2 separate regions of the Homo sapiens genome follow, and region 2 is linked to region 1. Evidence: promoter capture Hi-C in 16 types of primary human blood cells and fetal thymus (Javierre and others, 2016). All regions are on one chromosome and are shown on one strand. Each heading gives the region's core, a stretch centred on a gene start or on the middle of the fragment in contact. The rest is flanking DNA. Distances are from core to core; before and after follow the strand shown.

Region 1 (3,195 bases), core at 397-2,896:
GGTGCCCCAACTGAGCAGCCGGTTGTGGGAGGTGACAGAGCAGACTGCTCCCTGCTTGGCCTCCTATCCCAGGGGGCTCCTGGCACGCCTGCAGCAGCCCCACCACCTCCAGCAGCAGTTCTCTGTGGTCTGACTTCTAGTCCTCACCACCGCGGAAAACTACTTTCACACCAGCTATGGTTCTGAGCCCTGGCCATGCACCAGAATCACCTGTGCAATTTGAAAACTGCACATGTCCACCCTGAAAGTCTGATTTGGGTCTGGGTTGAGGCCCGGATGTGGGTAGTTTTTAAAGGTCCCTAGTGGTTCAGAAGCATAGCCAGGGTACAGCTGGTCCACACACATCCCCAGCACTCTCATCCCTGACCACAGCTTCCAATTGCCAGTTGGTTGACAATTCCCAAATTGCCTTTGCCAGCGCAGCTCTCTCTGCTTCCTTCCAGGCTACAAATTCACCGGCTTCCTGAACATTTCCACTTGGATAATCCACAGGCCCTTCCAACTCAACATGTCCAACACCGAACTCATGAGCCCCTGCCTTTCCTCCCAGGAGCCGGGATGTACCCCTCCCCCAGGTCACCCCGCCAAAGGCACACTTTTGCAGGGTCTACCTACCTCCTCACCCTATCCAGTCAGGCACTAATGAATTTTCAAAATTGCGTGTTCCAGATTGGGGCCTGGCAGCCCCACGCTCCCCTCATGCCCTGCATCAGACCTCATCCTCTTTCCACAGCAGCCTCCACCTTTCTCTCCAACCCCATCCTCTTTACTACAGCCAGAGTCATCCACAAAAAATGCCTGTCTGATTACACCATTCTGCTCAAAACCCTCCCATGGTCCCCAGTGTTAGGATCTTTCCATCCATGTTACTCACCCAGCCCTCAACCCACCTGCCAAATTGCCATAATTAGGCATCTGAAATGCTGCCCTCCAGCTACCTACTTCAAGACTCAGCTCAGATGTTCCTCCTCTGTGACCCCTGCCTTCAGCCCTCAGTACCCACTTCTGCCAACACTGCCCCTGCTGTGCCCCAGTGACTCCCGTGTTTGCAAGTGTGTCCGTACTCCAAGCCCTAAGCAGCACAGGAGGTGAGCTGTGGGGAGACTAGAGCAGAGTCAGATCCTGAAAGCTGCGCAGAGGCTAAGCAACCCAACAAGGCAGGTGAACTGGCCGCTGAGAGAAGAATCGGGTGGAGCAGAGAGCAGCTGCTGCAGGGCAGACAGCCGGACCCCCAAATCTGCACGTACCAGCAGTCAGCCGCCCCACGCAGGGACCGGCTTACCCCTCGCTCCCCGCCCTCACTCACTTTCTCCCGCCCTCGGCCCGGCCTCCCAGCTCTCTACTTCGCGAGTCTACAAACTCAACTCCCGGTTTCCGTGCCTCTCCACCGCTCGAGTTCTCTACTCTCCATATCCGAGGGGCCCCTCCCAGCATCTACCCCCCTCCCAACCTCGGGGGACCTAGCCAAGCTAGGGGGGACTGGATCCGACGGGTGGAGCAGCCAGGTGAGCCCCGAAAGGTGGGGCGGGGCAGGGGCGCTCCCAGCCCCACCCCGGGATCTGGTGACGCTGGGGCTGGAATTTGACACCGGACGGCTGCGGCGGCGGGCAGGAGGCTGCTGAGGGATGGAGTTGGGCCCGGCCCCCAGACAAGGCCCGGGGGCTCCGCCAGCAGCAGGTCCCTCGGGCCCCAGCCCTCGCTGCCACCCGGGCCTGGAGCCCCACACCCGAGGTAAGCCAGCCCACTTGCCTGTTTCTGGTCCCAGCCCTGGATGGACGCTCTTGGGCTGGGGGAGAGGACAGGACCACCCCCCTCCTCTCCTTTCTTGCATCCTCCCTCTCTTGGGCCCTCGGCACAGTTCTCCGCCCCTCCCAGCCCCTCAGTCCCTCTTGTCGCTTGTTGGACTGTGCTGGCCTTGCCGGCCCACTGTAATGTGAGGCTCCCGCTGCCGCTACAGGGTGCAGACTGGCTGCCAAGGCCACACTTTTGGCTAAAAGAGGCACTGCCAGGTGTACAGTCCTGGGCATGCGCTGTTTGAGCTTCGGGGGAGAGCCCAGCACTGGTCCCCGGAAAGGTGCCTAGAAGAACAAGGTGCAGGACCCCGTGGTGAGTAGCGGGCTGGTGGATGGGGAGGCAAGGGCCAGAGAACCAAATGGCCCTAGACCACAAGGAGGTAGGAGGCAGGGCCTGAGCTGCCCTCAAGAGACCTGCTCCCGGGCTCCCCCTAGCGCAGAGGGCTCCTAAGGCTGCCCTGCCTGCCTTTCCCTCCATCACGGACAACAGTCACTGGCCTGGCTCGGAGGCCTTGATTCCACTTAGCCAAGAGGCACACACCAGGACCTGGAGGACAACCCCGGGAAGGCCTGGGGGTCTGTTCCACAGGTGTGCAGGCATTCTGTGTGCTAAAGGATGGGGATGAGGGTGGTAGCTGGGACCCAAGAGGAGGCTGGCTAATGAGGACTTACGAAGGCTCTAGGGCCCCAAAAGGGTGTTTGGGAGTGCTAGCAGTGGGAGCTCAGGAAGGCTGGCTGGGATCAGGAACGATGGCTCAAGGGGGAAACTTCTAGGAGCATGACTAGGCTGCCAGATCCATAGGAGGCTGGGAGGGGGACAGACCTAGACCAGCTCCCAGGGTGGCTCAGCTCTCAGAGACCAGGCTGGTATGGAAGCCTAGCTGGCCCTCCTGGGAGTGGCTCAGGCCTGAGTGTAGCTGAGGGGATGGAAAAGCCCACCCTGCTTGGAATCTGCAGGCTTGGCAGACTCTGCCCCCTTGTGGCCACAGGAAGCCATGACCCAGGCCCCATGTTTTCAGAGGGCCCATTAGCTCCCACCATCCCCCGGCTCTGTGGTCATCGAGGGACACCTATAGTCAGAGGAGAGAACTCAGGTGGCTCTGGGTCCAGAACACAGTTCACAGAGGGGCGAGGTGAAGCAGCTCTGGGTGGGCAGCACAGGCTGAGGCTTGGGGCTCACTATCATTAGATAACTCTTAGAGTGACCAGCTAGCACCCTAATTCTTCTCCAGCCCTCAGCTTCCTCTCCGGCAGCCTGGGGTGAAGGCCTCTGTAGGACCAAGTGTGTCCAGCTATAACTCCTTCCAGCCACTTCTGGCATCTCCAGACCTACAACGCAGAGCAGGAAGGTTCTGGGAAAAGAGGACCCCTCTCTCCCCTCCAGCTGTGTGACCTTGTAACC
Region 2 (3,195 bases), core at 515-3,014, 110 kb before region 1:
GTGAGCTATGGAGTCAGACATGGATTTTTGAGGCCCAGTTCCACATCTTACTAGCTCTAATCTGGAGTGAGTTATTAAACTACTAAGTCTCAGTTAAAGTGGTGACAATAGTAATACCAAGGATGAGAGTTAGCCCTTATCAGTGTCTGGTAAACTAGCAGGGATATAGCCCAAAAATGAGACCCGGACTTCAGCTTGCCTCCTGCTCCATACCCCAGATTTCATTTCTTTACTCTTTCATTTAGCAGATGTTTCTTGAGCACCAGCTATGTGTTTTCTAGTTGGAATAAACGGAAAATTCTAAGACATAGACACAGCCTTATAAGCTTGATTGGAAAGGCTATCCTGCGAGCTGAAGTCTTAGTGAATGGGGAGGAAGCGAATGAGAACAGGAAGGGAGGGTAAAGGGTAGTATTGCTGGATAGCATGAGCAACAGACAAGTTTTTGGTTGTTTGTTTTTTTATAATAAGCATGACATATTGGTGATTTGGAAGCATTAATGGAGTACAAAAAGGATAACCAGGGATCCCAAGGTCCATGAAGTATAGATGAAAGAGCAGCCTCCTTTGCAGAGGGCTGTAAAAATGGCGTTTTCCCGAGAGACCCAGGTTTCTATGAAAGCAAAAATGGAAGGAACATTCACCGAAGAGTTTGAGGATATAAAGGAACACAGTTTTATGCCACATAATTGAAAGTTAGAATGTGGACCGTGCCAGGGGAGAAGTAGGAAATTGGACCAAGAAGAAGCAGAGAGCAGTGACTTGAGGATAAGAAAACTGAGAAGAATATGGTTTGGAGAGAAACAGGAATAACTAGAATGTGAGACTGGTGAGTTGGTGACATTGCCAGCCTTGTGGTTGCCTGAGAATTGACCCCGTCTTCCCCAGGGGTTGGGCACTCAGGCTGCTACGTGCAGGCAGCCACAACCTGATTTAAGGATACCTCCAAGGAGGCACATCTGCTCTCTGAAAGGGGTCTACTGTGGTCTGGCTCAAAGTTGAGGGCCTCGAAAAGTCTCAGGGGTAAAGGCTCTTGCCCCGACAACAAAGTGGATACTCCCTCATTCAGTTAACAGATTTGTTGAGCAACTAATATGTATCAGGCAATATTCTGTGGTCTGAGGATATACCAGTGAACAAGACAATCAATAAACAAAAATTATTATAAATAAAGTTTTTAGGATTTTGGAAGGTGATAAGTGCTGTGAAAGAAAATAGAGCAAGACAAGGGAATGCTGTTGAAGAGATTGCAAGTTGCAATGGGACAGTCAAAGTAGAATTCATTGAGAAGGTGACATTTGAGGAAAGAGTCAAAGGAAGAGAGGCAGAGCATTCCAGGAAGAACCCTAAGGAAATCTCAGTCTCCATTATAAGGAATATGACACAACGAGCCAGGAATGTGCCCATTAGTCCAGGAGAGAGATGAGTCATCTGGATTCCTTGAAGGAGCCAGATCCTGGTGTCCAAGTGTGACTTTCCTGAGCCGACGTGGGCCTTCTGGGAGCAGATTTAATTAAATGGAAGTTTCATCTATTTCTGCTGGGTGTGGGCAGGTGCTCTGTGCTCTGGGAAAGCTCCTGTCTGCTGCCACAGTGTGGTGTTTTACAGTTGCCATGTGGGCAAGAGCATGGGGACTTTAATGCTCAGTCTAATTTCATAAGGAATTCCATGTGAAGACACAAAAATATGAAAATGAAAGCAAACAACTCTTAACCCCCAGAGCCTTGTGAAAAACCAGGTCATTTGTAATAGTGTATAAACATGGAGCAGTCTAAATATAGCCTGAGGTGAGTTTAACACTTCTAAAACAGCCTGTCAAGTTCCCTAGGGCTGCAAGGGGAAAGCATTTATTGAGCACCTACTATATGCCCAGTGGTGCACTAGGTACTTTCTATGTTACCTGTTCCCACAACATTTGCTTAGATAATCTAATCCGGTATCATGGCTTTAAATATCATCTATATGCTGATGACTCCTATATTTATATCAAGCCCAGTTCTCTTTCCCCACACTCCAGACTCATTTACCCAATTGCTTCCTTCATTTGGATATGTATTAGGCATCTCACACTTAACATGTCCAGAACCAAACTCCAGATTCACACCCCTGCCTCCCAGAATCTTTTCTACCCCAGGAAATGGCAGCTAACTACATCCTTCCAATTGCTCACATCAAATACTGTAGCATCATTTCTTTGACACTCAAATCTGATATCAGCAAACCTTATTAGCTTTACCTTAATATCCTCAGATCCAGCCACTTCTCACTACCTCTGTATCATCACTCTGTCCAAACCACCATCTCTCACCTAATTTTTGCACTCCTAACTAGTCTTCCAGATTTTATGCTTGCTTCTCTGTGGTCTATTTCCACACTGAAGCCAAAGTGATCCCATTAAAATACAAGATAGATCTTGTTACTCCTGTGATCAGAACTCCCCAATGGCTCCCCATTTCTTGTAGAATGAGAGCCAGAACCTTTATAGTGCTCATCAAGGCCCTACATGGTCCACACCTTCGTTTCTTGTTGCTCTCCTTCTTGTTTATTGTTTTATCCTGCGCTCCTTGCTGTGATTCGGATATTCCAGACCTGTTCCCGCCTCAGACTCTTGGCATTTGCTCATTCCCTTGTCTGGAACACTCTTCCCCAGATACCTGAAGAGATTGCGCACTCTCTTGCCTTTTTAGAACATAGTTCAAATGTCACCTTCTTAATAAAGTCTCCTTTGCCCATCCCATTTAAAATCATAGCCCCATCCCCTATTGGCGTTCCCTGTTCCCCTTTACTGTGTCATTTTCTCCAGGGTATCTATCACTCTCGGATGCCACATATGTTTTATTTACTTGTTTATTGTCTGTCTCCATCTACTAGAGTGTTTCTTCTGTTTTGTTCCCTACTATTTTCTAACACCAAAACCAGTATCTACTGTATTACTTAGTGATCAATTAATAAATATTTGTTGCATGGATAAATGGTGGACAACTCTGTGAAGTAGATGGTATTTAAATGCATTTTAACAAATGTGAAAATGATATAGAAGGGATAAGTAATTTGCTTATGTTCACAGAACTAAATGTGATCAAGCCAGTCTTTGAACCCTTCTCTGCCTGGCTCCAAACTTTTTTACTTTTCTCACTATTCAACTTAGCTTTCTGTTTTTTCCAAATTCACAGTCAGTTTTATCCTATGTTTTAA

The links. The method cuts DNA at HindIII sites, captures the fragments that hold promoters and counts their contacts. A CHiCAGO score of 5 or more calls a contact.
Region 2: a contact is called between a fragment that was not itself captured here and the fragment with the promoter of ARTN in region 1, in 2 of 17 cell types (endothelial precursors and M2 macrophages). The highest score is 5.3, in endothelial precursors.

What each region holds. Positions count from the first base shown.
Region 1 is chr1:43,932,155-43,935,349 of GRCh38, forward strand. ARTN (artemin) reads left to right here and starts at 1,647. Exons shown (of 5, transcript NM_057091.3): 1 at 1,647-1,731; 2 at 1,958-2,106. RefSeq lists enhancers at 1-409, 1,039-1,088, 3,178-3,195 and silencers at 1,599-1,688, 2,239-2,288. The HindIII fragment of the contact is 8,131 bases long and covers 1-3,195 here.
Region 2 is chr1:43,820,805-43,823,999 of GRCh38, forward strand. The region is part of intron 4 of ST3GAL3 (ST3 beta-galactoside alpha-2,3-sialyltransferase 3); the gene reads left to right. Among named protein-coding and RNA genes, the nearest start is that of MIR6079, 16 kb to the right of the region's middle. RefSeq lists an enhancer at 567-1,766. The HindIII fragment of the contact is 2,881 bases long and covers 325-3,195 here.